2 separate regions of the Homo sapiens genome follow, and region 1 is linked to region 2. Evidence: promoter capture Hi-C in 16 types of primary human blood cells and fetal thymus (Javierre and others, 2016). All regions are on one chromosome and are shown on one strand. Each heading gives the region's core, a stretch centred on a gene start or on the middle of the fragment in contact. The rest is flanking DNA. Distances are from core to core; before and after follow the strand shown.

What was found. Contacts are between HindIII fragments. The CHiCAGO score rates a contact against its expected background, and 5 or more counts as called.
Region 1: a fragment that was not itself captured here is called in contact with the fragment with the promoter of ARHGEF9 in region 2 in 1 of 17 cell types (monocytes); the score reaches 5.1 in monocytes.

What each region holds. Positions count from the first base shown.
Region 1 is chrX:64,187,090-64,194,251 of GRCh38, forward strand. It overlaps AMER1 (APC membrane recruitment protein 1), which reads right to left. Exons shown (of 2, transcript NM_152424.4): 2 at 1-6,295. The coding sequence starts at 6,197. The coding sequence ends at 2,790. Among named protein-coding and RNA genes, the nearest start is that of AMER1, 15 kb to the right of the region's middle. The HindIII fragment of the contact is 3,365 bases long and covers 1,869-5,233 here.
Region 2 is chrX:63,782,743-63,790,086 of GRCh38, forward strand. ARHGEF9 (Cdc42 guanine nucleotide exchange factor 9) reads right to left here and starts at 2,472. Exons shown (of 10, transcript NM_001353921.2): 1 at 2,374-2,472. The coding sequence starts at 2,403. It overlaps MIR1468 (microRNA 1468), which reads right to left and starts at 3,345; the gene lies at 3,260-3,345. The HindIII fragment of the contact is 6,142 bases long and covers 1-4,102 here.

The DNA of each region.
Region 1 (7,162 bases), core at 2,301-4,800, 410 kb after region 2:
TTGCTGCCACCCAAGCCAGCACTAGTCTGTGTTTGGAAACAGGCCTGAAGCTTGGCTGGCTCTCCCAATGTCACCCTGTGCTGTCAACACCATGGGTCCCCAGACAGGTCTTCCTTCCTCCCCTAGGCTGCCATTGGGTTTCAGCCACAAACTGCTTAGCTCTAGAAATTCAAAGGAACCTGCTTCTGCAGCCACATATCCTGGCTGCCCCACTTCAGGTGGTAAGGATCCTATTCCTGGGCTGGCTAGGGCAGTGAAGGGACTTGCAGGCAGCAAGGCTGTCCAAACCATGAACTCTCACTCAGCCCCAGGCCCTACTCTGTGGTGTGTGACCTTCCAAAGCCCAACAAAGTGTGTCAGGGCTATGCCAGTGCCCCTCAGAGACAATGCCTCATGCTGCCTTCCTGATCCTGAGGGCAGCTCTCAGCCCTTAGCCAAAGGTTGGCCACCTCCTTTTTCTCTTCCCAGATAGGCTGGTGGCCCTTCTCCAGCAGGGTCTGGAGGCTGGTGATGGCTCTACCGCCTGCTGTGGCTGGCACAGTCCACATGTAGACAGGAGCTCAAGCTGCCCTGAAAGAAGAGGCAAGAGGTGGGTTCTTCCCTGTTGTAAAGGCATTTGGTGAGTGTTTACTTCCTGCCAAATAGCCAGGCCAATTTCAGCCCCACCATCCCAGAGCAGCTTTGGTAAGAGGCCAGAAAGTTGGAATTTGGGCACTTCTCTCTTGGAATGCTGTGCTTGGGGTAAGGAGGGCCTTCCTCACCCTCTTTCATTCTCCAGCTCCACAACAGATACATTTCTTCACAATGTATCTGTAGCCAAAGTCAGCCTGAAGAGCTGGTCTGGGTCCCTTGAGTGGTGGTGTTAGTGCCATGCAAATTCATGTGGTGCTTCCAGGGGTGCAGCTTCTACCAGCCAGGTCTGCTATTTGTGAGTAAGGGCACTGGGCCAACCCCAATCTGAGAAATGGTGACAAAGACCAGCATGGACACATCCCCTGGCCAAGAAACAGTTTGCCCACAAAGTCACCTTGACTTAGGGGGCAAACAGCATCTGTTCCCAAGCTAAATTGCCATATCTCAGGAATGGCAAGAACCCTGTTGACTTCTTCTCTCAACAGGCATGGAGATGGTGGGATGTGAGGGCGAGGGTGCAATAATCATAATTTGAGTGAACACAGCCAAGCAAAAAATGTTCCATATGCCATTTCCAATAAAGACATGTAAAAGGAACCCTCTCCTACAGGTGATTAATGAGAGGTTGAGCTTGGCAAGATTAGCCTGTTCCAATGTCTTCCTGACAGCAAGCTCTTCCCCACCAGTATTTCCAACCTAGTTTAACATGAAAACTGCATGGATGCAGGAGAAGGGAGGGTGCCATTCATTCCATAAAGGGCTGCAACTGCCAAGAAGCCCTGTCATTTGATGATGCTAAGGACTCGGCTAATTGGAAGATAAAAGCTCTTTAAAGGGCCCAGAACAGCAGCTGAGATGCCTTTGGTATCCTGTCTTGGGAGTGCAAACCTGGGGCCTTATTACAGAGTCCAAATGATGGGATGGGCAAGGCTTAAGGAACATTTTGTGTTGGGAGGCTTGAGAAGGGAGTTTTCCCTTTTAAGAAACTGAGATACCTTAAGCTCTGCATGGTCTGAAATCCCCTTTCTTGCTGGCTGTGATAAATGGACCCTCATTTTCTATCTTTCCCCTACACTCCACAAAAACCCCAGCCCCTATAGTCAAGCCTAATTTAGGTTGCTTCTCTTCCCTTATCTCAATTAAAAGACCGTGTTCCTTGTGATGAGATTATGAAAATTTCCTTTAGAGGAAAAAAGAACAAAAATTCAAAAGCATCTGCAACTCAGGTAGTCACAAGCTTAAAAGAAGGAAAAAAAATCCTATCATTCCGGAGCTCAACACTCTATGGCAGTGTCCACAACAGAACCTTGTTTTGTCTTCTGTTTGCAAATGGATGAATTTTATCACTCCATCAAGGGGATTAGCATTTTTGTCTTTAACCCAAGCTATGGCAGGACAGTTAAAAGGCCCCCATCTGGTCATGATGCCAAAGTCCACAGCGATAGGCTGTGAGACACACGCTACTTGATCCTCTCTAAGGACAGCTAGCTGGGATGAATAGCTTATAGTCATCTGATATAATGATGGCAGCTATGCCAGGCCAAAAGGAATAGGGGTGGGGAGGATCTGTACCATAATTTCACATTGCTAATAGCAAATAAGCCCCACTTCCCCAAGCGGGAGGCAATGCAGACTTGGCTGCTAATCAGTGGTTCATCATTCATTGGGGGAAAGGGGCAGGGGGCACTAAAGGTTTAGCCTGTGTCAAGGATGCATGCTATATATGTGTGTGCATGTGTGTTTGTGTGTGTGTGTGTATGTATGTGTGTGTGTGTGTGTGTGTGTGTGTGTGTATATATATATATATATATATATATATATATATATATATATATAATCACTAACTTGGCAACTGGAATAGGCACAAAATTACAGCATCCCAAACCCAGCGTGGGTCACAAGAAGAAACCTCGAAAGCAAAAACTGGAGTGCAGTAGCAGCAGCAGCCTCCCTGGGCAGATGCACTTGAGTTGAACGTGGCCATAGATGGCAGAAGAGGCAAGTGGGAAAACCAAGGTGAAAACTCACAGGAGTTTTCCTTGGCCCAAAGGGTTTTCAAGTTAAACAACAACCCCCACCCCCCCACCCTTCTGCCCAACCCCTGATCCCCATTCACATGCTCAGGCCCCGTGTCCCTACTCCAGAATTGATAATAACTACTTGGCTAGGTTTCCATTCATGGCAGTGGAGGAGTAGCTGGTGGCAAGAGAGGCACCTTGCTCAGCCCTCTCCTTTGACAGGTCAAGGCTGGAAGGCCCATAGTGAGTGGGCTGAGGCTGGGGGTGCTCAGGCCGGACCCTGGGCAGCTGAGGAATGCCATGGGTGATGCCCACAGGCTTGGCCTGTGGTAGAGGGCTGGGGCTGAAGCCTCCAGAACTGGAAGAGCAACTGGGCTCATCAACAGGCAGCAGCACATCTCGAGGCCTGGCCCTCATGCTCTGGGAGGCCTGTGGCTGGAGGTTATAGCAAGGGCCCATGGGCAGGTGTAGGTGTGAGGGACGAGCTAGTTGAGGCCCAGATTCCCCAGGTGCCCTTGACTCTGGCACTGATAGTGATATTGACATGGTCATAGGAGGTATGCAACAGGTTGCCTGCCTATATGGAGACTGGCTGGAAGGCCTGTCCAACTGGTTGGGGCTTATCCAGGCAGGACCTGGCCCCACTGGAAGAGGACAGGGAGCCCAAGCAGGCCAATCATAGGCCCCTGGGGGTTCAGTATAGAGGGAAAGGGGACTGTCTCGGCTCCATTCTCCTTCTTCCTCCTCTTCGTCCTCCTCATCTGAATCTTCCTGCTGGGCCTGCAGCTCATCAGACTCGAGGTAGCCCTGGACCAAGTGGGAATTGGAGAGCTCCATCTCCAGGGTCTCTGCAGTGTCGAGAGAGCGGCTTCTCCTGTTGAGGGCCATAGCAGCAGGTGGAGGTCGAGGGTGCAGGCCAGGCAGTCCCAAGTATCGAGGGAGGCTGCTCACACCCCAGGGCAGGCCTTGGTAGAATCGACTATGGTAGTTGTTGAAGGCATGTTTGTGATAGTAGCCCAGCTCAAAGGCTTCCAAGGAGGCTGCAAGATCTTCATCATTGTGGAACTCAGGATTCTCTTCACACTTGCCTTCCCCATCCCGTTCCACATCAGCGATGTCAAAGGTCACCATGGGAGGCAGCTCAGGGAGGTTTTGAGTGAAAGATGAGTCAGAGTCAGAGCTGCAGGACATGCTGGAAAAGAGGTTCCCATTGCTGGTGAACTCTACCAGGGCCTGTGAGAAACTCACAGTGGCATTCCCTTCCTTCTCAACCTCCTCTTCCTCTGGATCTTCAGGGGGTGAATAAGTAGGGTAGGCCCTCCTGGGAGATCCTCCAAAATTTGCTTCTTGCATGTCTGGCTCAAACATGGCATCACTCTGGAAGAGCTGCATCAGGCAGGTACTTTGATCTTTCTTGGAGCAGGTTCCTTCATAACGCTTCTCCAGAGGACGGAAGTCCCTCCAGTCTGGCTCGCTGCTTGCAGTGGTGGGGAAAGCTGAGGTAATTCCCCGGTGGGAAATCTGAGAGGTCCCTGATACCCCTGCTGCCAGGCCCATCACTGATGGGCCTAAGGGCCTCATCTGATACTCTAAGACGGGCTTCTCCTGCCGGGCCTGGGTCTCTCGGACTTGAGTCTCTCTACAACGAACCTCTCGGGCCTGGGCTTCTCGGGTTCTGGCCTCCCTGCCATGAGCTTCCCAAGTGTGGGCCTCCCTGGCATAGGCTTCCCTGCCATAAGCCTCTCGAGTATAGGCCTCCCTGGCGTGGGCCTCCCTGGCATGAGCTTCTCGGGCACGTGCCTCCTGGGCCTCAAGCTGCTCCCGCCGAAGCTCCCAATACAACAACTGTTTCTGGATGGTCACTAGCCGTTCTTCCTCTGTCTCCATTGCCCCAGGTGGCCGGGAGGACAAAAAGGGCTCAAAGTTTAAGAAGGGGTCAAACATCTCAGAGCTTCGACCATGGAGGTCATAAAGGCAGTCATCTCCAGGTGGAGAGTTCTCAAGGCTGTCATCTGGCTCATAGAACTCATATAGGGCATCTCCACTGTAGCTGTCTCGGGGTAGACAATCCCTGCGGACAAGCCCCAGGGCCTCACCTGAATCATCCTCAAATCCAGGTGTGGTGGAGTCATAATAACCTTCATCACTATTGGGGGCGGATTCTTGCTGGTCACTCTGAGGAGTCAAAAGTTCCCCAGGGGCTAGGCCAGGATAAGACCTAACTGGGTCAAGGAGCATGTAGCCGTGGTGGCCTGGGGATGTGGTGGGATGGTAGCCCAGGTTCATATTGGGCCGTGGATACATTTGGGCAGTTTCCCACAGATATTCTAAGTCATCATCTTCTTCCTCCTCCTTAACCTCCTCTTCTTCCTCCTCTAATTCCACCTCTTCTTCCTCTTCTTCCTCCTCGTCATCATCATCTGGCAAGGCCATCTCCTCCCCACCTCCTTGGTAGGTCACCAGGCAGGAACTTCGCTTGGTCCCATCTCGGTTTGCTCTCTGGCCCCCAGAGGCCATGCTGTCTGTCATACTGTCCATGTCCTGTTCTGCTATTATGTCACCACAACCTGTCAATGAATCAAAGCTTTTCAGGGATGTCACATCCCCAAACAAGAGGCTCAGTGGGTCCCCCACAGGGCCATTGGGTGGGTTTACCTCTCCTGCTACTACCTTCTCCCCTGTTTCTGGGCTATGGGGCTCCTCTAGGCTACTGGCTTCAGGGGCAGGCTTGGGTTGCACATGTGCTGAGGCACAGGCCTCCATGGGTTTTTCTGGATCTTTACAGGCCATTTTCTCAGTAGCTGGTGGAGAAGGTTCTGGTGTTGGAGAAACTTTTGGCCCAGGGGCATCTTGGGGGTTAGCATTTTCCTTTCTAGGGGCTTGGAAGGTCTCCTCAAAGCAGGGCACCTGAGGGGCTGAGCTCACGTGCTCATGAGGCCTGGCTCTGACCCTCTCAGGCCCCTTGGCCCCTGGCTCACTTTGCTCAGCCCCAGTGACCTTGCTCTTCCGGTGACGGCGGATACTGCTAAAAAAGCCTTTTAGGCCTTTCTTTGGCTTGGGCATAGAGGGAAACTTCTCAGCCACAGCTTTCTCTGTGGCTCCAGCCACAGATGTCTTACATCTGGAGCCTGTCTCCAAAGCCCCATGGGCACTCTGAGAGCTGGGAAATTGGCAGGGTAACTCAGGCAAAGGCAGGGAGAAGCCAGTTCCTTCACTGACAACATCTTCAGGGCCATGGGCTGCTTCACTCAGGCCATCGTGGGTCTTGCTCTTGCTGAGACCTTTCTTGGAGCTGCCTTTCCCAGAACCTTTGCTCCGTCCCCCTCCAAAGAAACTAGGCAGAGTACAGATACCCTTCTTGCCACCAAAGAGTTTCATGGCAGTTTTCTTCAGCCTACCTGGGCCGGATGAGGATGGCTCTGAGGTTGGTCCTTCTGTCGCCTCAGCTGCCTTGTTCTTGGCTCCTTTTTCTGCTGTTTGTTCACGGGTACTCCCAGAGGCTGCAGCTCCCTTGGCCTGAGCAGCTTCATCCTTTTGGGTCTCCATGATGATGGGGACAACTGAGGTACGTCCAGCTGGAAATGCAGCCTCAGGCTTCCAGGCACTGTTATAACATTATCAGTCAGGAAGCATCACAGTGGGGTCTGGAGGAGATAGGAGAGACAAAGACAGAGAGACAGATACTAGTGAGCAAGCATCCAGGCTGGGTTTGCTTTCACCGGACGTCAGGCTTGAGTGGAACAAGAAAGAAAATGATGGAAAATGTGGGGCAAATCTTAATCCACTCGATATGCTTGGCTTGCTGGGCCAGCTCTCTCTGGGCCCCAAGGAAGCAAAACTCTACACTGAGCAACAAGAAGCCTTCATCCCCTACCTTCTTGCTGGGTCCACTCCCTTCAGACCATCCTAAGCTCAGGGGACCACTGGGCAGGGGGACCTGCAGTTGTGTGAAAGGCCTAGTGGTGCTATTGGCTGTGGGAGGTATTATCAATTATCAAAGGGGATGAGGATAGGGAGAGACAAGAAAGGCAAAAGGGATGTTGGCTCCAACATCACAGAATTTTTGAAAACCATCTGGCAAAACAGTCCATTGAGTCCTCACAGGGCTCTGTTGGATTCAAGCTTCAGTTTCATATTAGTCTGGGCTCTCACTGACATTTTGTCTGAGACTGAAAAGTGGACCTGAAGTTTCACCTCCCATCCAAAGCTTCCTAAATTGCCTGCAGAACCATGCTCAGGCTTCAGAATCTCAGAATAGGAGCCTCACACATCCACAAAGTAGGTCTGCAATCTAGAACCTGCTAAGACAATGAAATGGGAGCCTCAAGAAAGGTACTCTCTGGGCTTCAATATTCGCCATTCAAGAGGCCTATCAATATCTCTCCCTCAGAGAGGTGATATGAGGGTGGGTCTAAGCCAGACCCTCTATTGGCTGTCCTGCTGGGAAGATACTTTAATGCGGTCATCAATGGAACCCCAAATTCCACTTGAGAACCATGAGGTGGACTGTT
Region 2 (7,344 bases), core at 1,222-3,721:
ATCCCTATTTGTTCGTAATGAGCCACTAGTTAAATTTTATCCAACACATACTTCTAGGAATCTGAGAATCTAAGGCCTAGAAGGAATTTTGGTGCTTATTAACATCCGCATTTAATAGGTAAGAAATCTGAGGCCCAAAGGATTTCTGTTAGTGGCAAGGCCAAAACTTAGAGGTTCCCTGCCTCTCAGGCAAGAATAGAGTTTACTACTCCCATCTCTTGAATTCTGGTAAACAGCTAAATAAATGCTTTCATCATATAATATTCATTGTCTCAGTCCTCTAAGAATATTATGAGATTTTTCCCCATCAACCAATCCTTAATTACACAGTCTCCACAAGATGTCTGCCACCCTTTTCTCTCTCATACACTGTTGGCAAAACTTCAAATTTCTTCATTAATTTAACCTGTTGTCAATGAGTGGCTCTGGGCCCCTATACTTCAATATATTTGGGAGAGGAAGTAAGTCTCACCCTGACCCAGTTCCCAGTTGCCAGAAATGCCAGGACTGGCATGGATTTTTTTCGGGTAATTTTTTTTTTTTTTTTTTGAGATGGAGTTTCGCTCTTGTTGCTCAGGCTGGACTGCAACGGCACAATCTCGGCTCACCGCAACCTCCCCCTCCTGGGTTCGAGTGATTCTCCTGCCTCAGCCTCAGGCATGTGCCACTACGTCCAGCTAATTTTGTCTTTTTAGTAGAGACGGGGTTTCTCCACGTTGGTCAGGCTGTTCTTGAGCTCCCGACCTCAGATGATCCACCCGCCTCGGCCTCCCAAAGTGCTGGGATTACAGGCGTGGGCGGCCGCGCCCGGCTTTCAGGTAAATTTAATGGCACTAGATCATCCTGAAGAAAGTCCTTTCCCAAGATCATGACTATGTTCCTTTCTTCCCCTCTCAGCACCATTTGAGCAAATGATTGGTGGAGCAGTGGGGAAGGACTGTGGCAGTCAGGAGACTCAAGTGCTAGACTCAGCTTTGCCTCCAAGGAGTTTGTGGTCCTGGGCAAGTCTCTCCCACTCTCTGGATCCCAGCTTTCCTGGCTGGACAGCAAGGACTCTAAGGTCTTTACCTGCTCTAATCTTTTCTGGTTCTACAAACATTTGATGCAGCTTTAATGGGACCTCAGGGAAGTAGGGAGGTCTGGGAAGAAGGGTCTTTTGAAGCCCCAGCACATAGGCATATGAACCGGATGCCCTTAAGAACCACTGAAACAGAGATCTAACAAAACTCTGAGGAAGGGAAGAGGACAGCCCCTCTGAATATAGTCCTAGCCCACACCAGATTCCCTCTTCCCCTCCACAATGAAAGCAAAAATGGAGTTAAATATCAGTTTTTGCCCAACCACTTCAGGCTACTTTCCTTCATCTGCGGGTTATGGGTGGCAGCGTAGAAGTGTGGGCTATTGCCATCAGTGCCTGCTGACCCAACCTAACTGCCTTCTAAGGCCCTTTTGCTTATGCCTCCCAGCTGAGGACAAAGTCATGGGGGCCTCCCACTCCCCAGAGGCCCTAACCAGGCTTAAGCTGCTCCTGGCTAAGTCAGAGAGGCATCAAAATGCAGCCACCACTTCCTCTCTGCAAAAGGAAGTCATTCCAAGGTCTCCAGGTGGAGAAGGGAACACCATGGCATAAAATGAACTGTTGGAGGATTATACTAAACACACACACAAGCACACACTCCTTGGGAGGGAGAGAAGAGCTCTGTTAACTGACTGTGGCCCAAGCCCATTTCCAGAATGTGGGTTTCTGCAGCTGTCTCTCCTTGACAAAGCCCCAAGTGTGGACAGGGTGACCCCAGCCCGGACAAGGAAGGGCTTTAGGGCTCCCTCAGGCAGCTTCCTGAGAGAGAGAGAGTGGCTCTCTGGCCCTCATGCTCTGGGGCTGACCAGGGAAAGGAGTTGCAGAAAATCTAGTTGGGGGCAGGGGGGAGTCATGCAGCTCTCCCATAAGGCCCCCTCCACAATTCCAGGCTTTGTGACCGTCCCCTCCCCCCACAACCCCGTGCCAGCTTGTCAGCCTCCTGCGAGCTTCACTGCTTCCAGAGAAGCCCTCTGCCATCCCCCTTCCCTCTCTGGCCTCCCAAGTGACCCCTGGGATGTTCCTGGGCACATAATCTGGCCCCCACCCCTATTCCACCTTAATCTCAGAGGGAGATAGAAAAGTGGAGGGGGATGGTAGGGGGGTTTCCTGGGCAGGCAGGCTAGCAGGGACTCCTAAAATGGCCACAGCAAGCTCACTGGTGTCTCAAGGACGGCGGCTAGGGCGGTGGGCAGAGGCCAGGGTGCTCACTGCCTTGTGGCTCGTTGGAGGAACTGGAGGTGGGGCTGGGGGACTGAGAGGCTCAAGCAAGGGAAGCCAAGGTTACATGCACTCACCATTCCCGATCCGCCCCTTATCCACTGCATGGTGCTTGCGAAGTCCGGCTTCTCTGAGGCCCCGTAGCTGGCGCGAGTTGTCGCGGGCTGACTAGAAGGGCTGGGCTGAAGCAAGCGAGAGCCCCAGCGCCCCCTCCGCCGCCCCTCCTCCACAGCCCTACAACCCAATCCCCTCCGCCCCGGACCTCGCCTTCAGTCAGTTTGTTCCATGCCAACCGGCAGGCTCTGTCTCTCCGCCCTGCTGCTCCTAGAGGTCTTGGCAGGGAGAGGTGCGAGTGTGGGGGGGTCCTAATGGGCTGCTTTTGTCCCCCACCAAGGCTTGAGAACTGTGGGGGTGGGGTGCAGGGAGAGGATGGGGGCGAATAGCCTCCGCCCGCCCAGGAGAAGGCAGCTGCTACCTCTGCCTGCCTCCCGCTGCGCTGGAGTTAGATGCTGTTTATTGTGGGGCTTCCCAATTGTGTCGAGTCAGCGGAAAGTCCTTTCCAAAGTTACCAGAGGTGTTGTGCCAATCTCCAGAATAATAAGATCCTGCCCCAGTGGAGCCAAGCCAGCACTCTCATGCCTCCCTCCCCCACCCTCCCTCTGCATACTCCCCTAGGGTCTTCTCTCTTTGTGTACTATCTGAGAGCTTTCATCTGCATTACTTTCACTTCTCAGAACAACCCTGTAGAGGCAGCCATTAGTATCTCCAAGTTATAGATAAATAAATGGAGGTTTGGAAGAGGGAAGGGGCATAAGGTCACATTAAAGAAAAAAAAAAGATAAATCCTCGACTTTACCCTCTGCGGCTTTCCAAGCCTCTTTCGGCTATCTCTCCCTTTCTATCTCACACACACCACTCCAGGCTTCTCCTTCATGCCCTTAGGAACATGAAAGGTAGCTTGTTGATGGACGAATTTTCCATTTGCTTATTTTGCTGAGAATGAGTTGAATGCACATCAGCGAAACAGGCAAACGGAGAAACCACCCACCTCTTTATGATTCCCCCAACTCTGGGGAACACAACACAGGCTGGTACCTTTGCTTAGGCTAAAAATTGACTTTGTCAGTCACACTAACATCTGTTATTATCCCTTATAATCCTCACAGTAACTCTATGAGATGGACACAACAAGGATTCTTAATTGCCCACCATTACAGACTTGAACACTGAAGCCCAGAGATTGAAAGACTTCTGCTTAAAGTAGCACAGCCAAACAAGACAAGAATCCAAGGCTCCTGACTAGAAGAGCAGGTCAGGCAAAGACAGAATTGCAAAAACAGAGGTTGCAACCAAAGTAAAAGGAGTTACAGTATGATATTAGAAAGAAGTTCCTGGAGATAATTGACATGAAGACATCACTGGCCTGTTACACGTACTTTATTTGTCCTCTTCTTTTTAGCACAACTTCTGCACTTCATCCAACCTGTTGTTTTGTCCATGCAGAGCTGGGCAAAGATAGAAGCAGTACCTTAATGAGCACCCCATCATGGGAGGTGTACAAGCAGAAGCTGAATGACCCTTTGGCAAGGGATTCCTGAATCAAATGGGAGGTTGCCCTGGATGACCTTTCAACTTCCCTCCCAAGTCTGGTAACCCAGGCATCAGTGATTCCACAATGTTCTCTCACTTTCCCATCTCTGGGCCTTCTTTCATGCTCAGTATCTTGGATGCACCTCCCCTGCCAACCAGCCCATTCAAACTGTCATGACTGTTCAAGATCTGGCACCAGGCACACCACCTTTAGAAAGCTTTCCAGGAATACCTCCAGGCCCTGATTTTGTCATCTTTCATTTGATTCCTATAGCACTACGATTTCACTGTCTCGATTAAAAATGATCTTTTTATTTCCTGGATGTTACGGGCTGAATTGTTTTCCCCCAAAATTTATATGTTGAAGTCCTTCCAGTACCTCAGAATCTGATGACTCGGAGAAGACAGTCATCTAAACAGCAAGCCAAGGAGAGAGGCCTCAGAAGACCCAACCCCACTGATACCTTGTTCTCAGACTTCTGGCCTCCAGGATTATAAGAAACTCAATTTCTGTTGTTTAAGCCACAGAGTCTGTGGTATTTTGTTATGGCACAGCCCTAGCGAACTAACACAATGGTCATATGAACATTTTACTGTCCCCTTTCACTTAAATGGCATTATGTGTTTTTGAAGCAGTGGCAATGAATTACTAATTTCTGCATCTTCTACAACAGTGACTGGCACATAGTAAATACCCAATAAAAACTTGGAATTTTTTGATGGATGCATTCATTCAACATTATCATTTAGCCCCTGTGTGCCAGGCATTGTGACAGATGCTCAGGATACAAGACAAAGTTCCTCATGGACCTTACAATCTACTTACAGAAGAGAGATAGACAATAAATAAGTAAACAAACAAAAATATTTAGAGATTGTAATATGTGCTCTGAAGGATATAAACCAATTTATGTGATGTGAGTAGCCCTGGAATTGTGGAAAGTATCTGTGCCGGTCATGGTCCAATCAGGAAAATAAAAACCACCCTAGGTCTTTTAAACTGCGAGCATTTAATGCATGACACTTACAGAGCTAACAAGCCAGACAGAGGATGAGGATGCAGCAACCTAGCATTTAACAAACACAGAAAGCTGCTACCACTCGTAGGGATGGACGGATAACAGATGAAGCCATGCAGAAGCTAAAATCATGGGTTGGACAGCCTATTGGAAGCAGGTGCCATGAATGGAAGAGTTGTTCAAGAGGAGCTGGAGCCATGGAGGAATACAGCTACCACCAGAAAACACCTCTCTGATACAGGTGGTGGGAGAAATACCCTGGGTTCTCCCTTCCTCCTAGCCACCAATCTCCTGTACATGTCTCCCATTGGACAAAAGAAGTGAGAAAGCAAGGAAATCTAACAAATGTAATTTTCAGGAGAAGAGTGGAGAATGGATCTGGATGCAAACAGGCCAGTGTTAATATAAAGCCTAGGGACTCCTGCAAAAAACAGGTGCCTAGAGACTCCTGCAAAAAACGTGTTGATCCCAGAGGTGTAAATAGATGCTGTTGAATCCAGTCATTATGTCTTGAGCACCTATTTGCCTAGAACCATATGAGTAGTTAGAGGAGACATAATGTAGTTGGTAGGGCATAATCTCTGAAGTCAGAACAACTTGGATTGTATTCAGTTATTGGCTTTGCCACTTACTTGGGCAGATTATTCAATGTTCTATGCCCTGACAGTTTCTTTATCTGTGAATAGGGCTGACAAGATAGTTACAAAGATTTGATAAATTTGTCCAAGGAAAGTACTTAGCACAGGGCCTGGAAGCCAGTAAGAATTCAGGACAGGACAATAGAAATCTGGAAAAGGGGTTTCCATAATCTCTGTGTTCACTCTCTTGAAGTCCTGTGATCTCCCAGAAGCCTCTTTGGTACCTAGCCAGGCACCAGCTCTCCACTCTAGTAGAGGGCCATGAGCAAAATGAAGAGAAAGACAGTCATGTCCCAGCTTATCTGTGACTCAGGTTCTCCAGTCATACAATGAACACACTAATTGTGTACCTAAGAGTGTTAAAGAATCACTGATCCATAGATATCAGAGTTGGCCTTAATAATTGTAAAGATTATTTCCTCCAACAGTCTCATTTTACTGATGAGAAGATATAGCCCCAGGGAATGGAAGGAGCTCCCAAAGTCACAAAGTAAGTTAGTGGCTGAGCTGGGATAAAAACTCAAACCCTTGATTCTCCAGTGAGTGGAGTGCAGTAGTGAAAACGGGTAAATACTGAAAGGACACAACTACTATAATTCCAAATATTGGAGGCCCAAGACTAACGTGTATATTATAAACTCTTATCTTTACAAAGCAATATTTCGTACATACATTACTACCTATTTTTATTTATTCATAAAATCAATAAATATGTGTGCCTACAATGTGCCAGGTATAGTATGTTAAGCACTGATGCCATAGCAGTGAACAAGATGGACAGAGTTCATGCCCTCATTTCTATTCAATAAACAACTAAATCTGGTAAGCAAATGTGCTAATACAGATGGTGATAAGTGCTATAAAAGAAAGAAAGTGAAGGGATAGAGTAACTCTGGGGGAGGAAAGGGAGTTTAGATAAGGAAGGCTTCTCCAAGGAGAAGGTATTCAAATTAAGGCCTAAAGGCTTAAGGCGAGCCAGCCATGTAAGAGGTAGGGGGAAAGTATTCCAGGCACAGAAAACAGAAAGTACAGAAGCCCAAAGGATTGAACTGGCATGTAATGTTGCAGGAATTAGAAGCGCAATGAGGCTGAAACCTAGAAAGAAAGAGGGAGAATGATAGGAGACAAATTTGACAGAAGCCAGGTCATATAAAGCCTTGAAGACCATAGTAAAACAATCTGGATTTATTCTATGAACTACAGGGAGAGAGGCGTGGGAACTGAGGGATTTTTAAGCAGGAGAATTAACTGATCCGATTTACATTTTTAAAAGATTTACATTGTCTTTTAAAAAACTGTTGTTTTTACAGGGGAAAGATGATGGTGACTTGGACTGGAAGAACAGTAAAGATGATGGACAGAGGTAAAAAGATTTGAGATATATTTTAGAGATAGAAATAACAGAGCTTGATGATGGATTGGATGTGGAGTGTGAGGGAAAAAAATGAAGAAATTCCAGAAAACTTTAGGTTTTTGGTTTGCAATACTGGGTAGATGGTGGCACTTTGGCTAATGTGGGGAGACTGGCATAAGCTCGGGTTTGAAGAGGGAAAAAACTCAAGACTTCCATTTGAATGTATTGAGAGTGAGCTGCCCAATAGTTATATTATTAGAGGGGATGTCAGGAAGACAACTAGATATGAAAGCCTGGAGCTCAGGAGAGAAGATCTAGCTGGACATACACATTTTGGAGTCTTCCTCATATTTATGATATTTAAAGTCCCAAGACAGGATGTAATCATCTAGGAGGGAACATAGATTTTAAAAAGGGCCCTGGACAAATCCTGAGGTTCTTAACAAT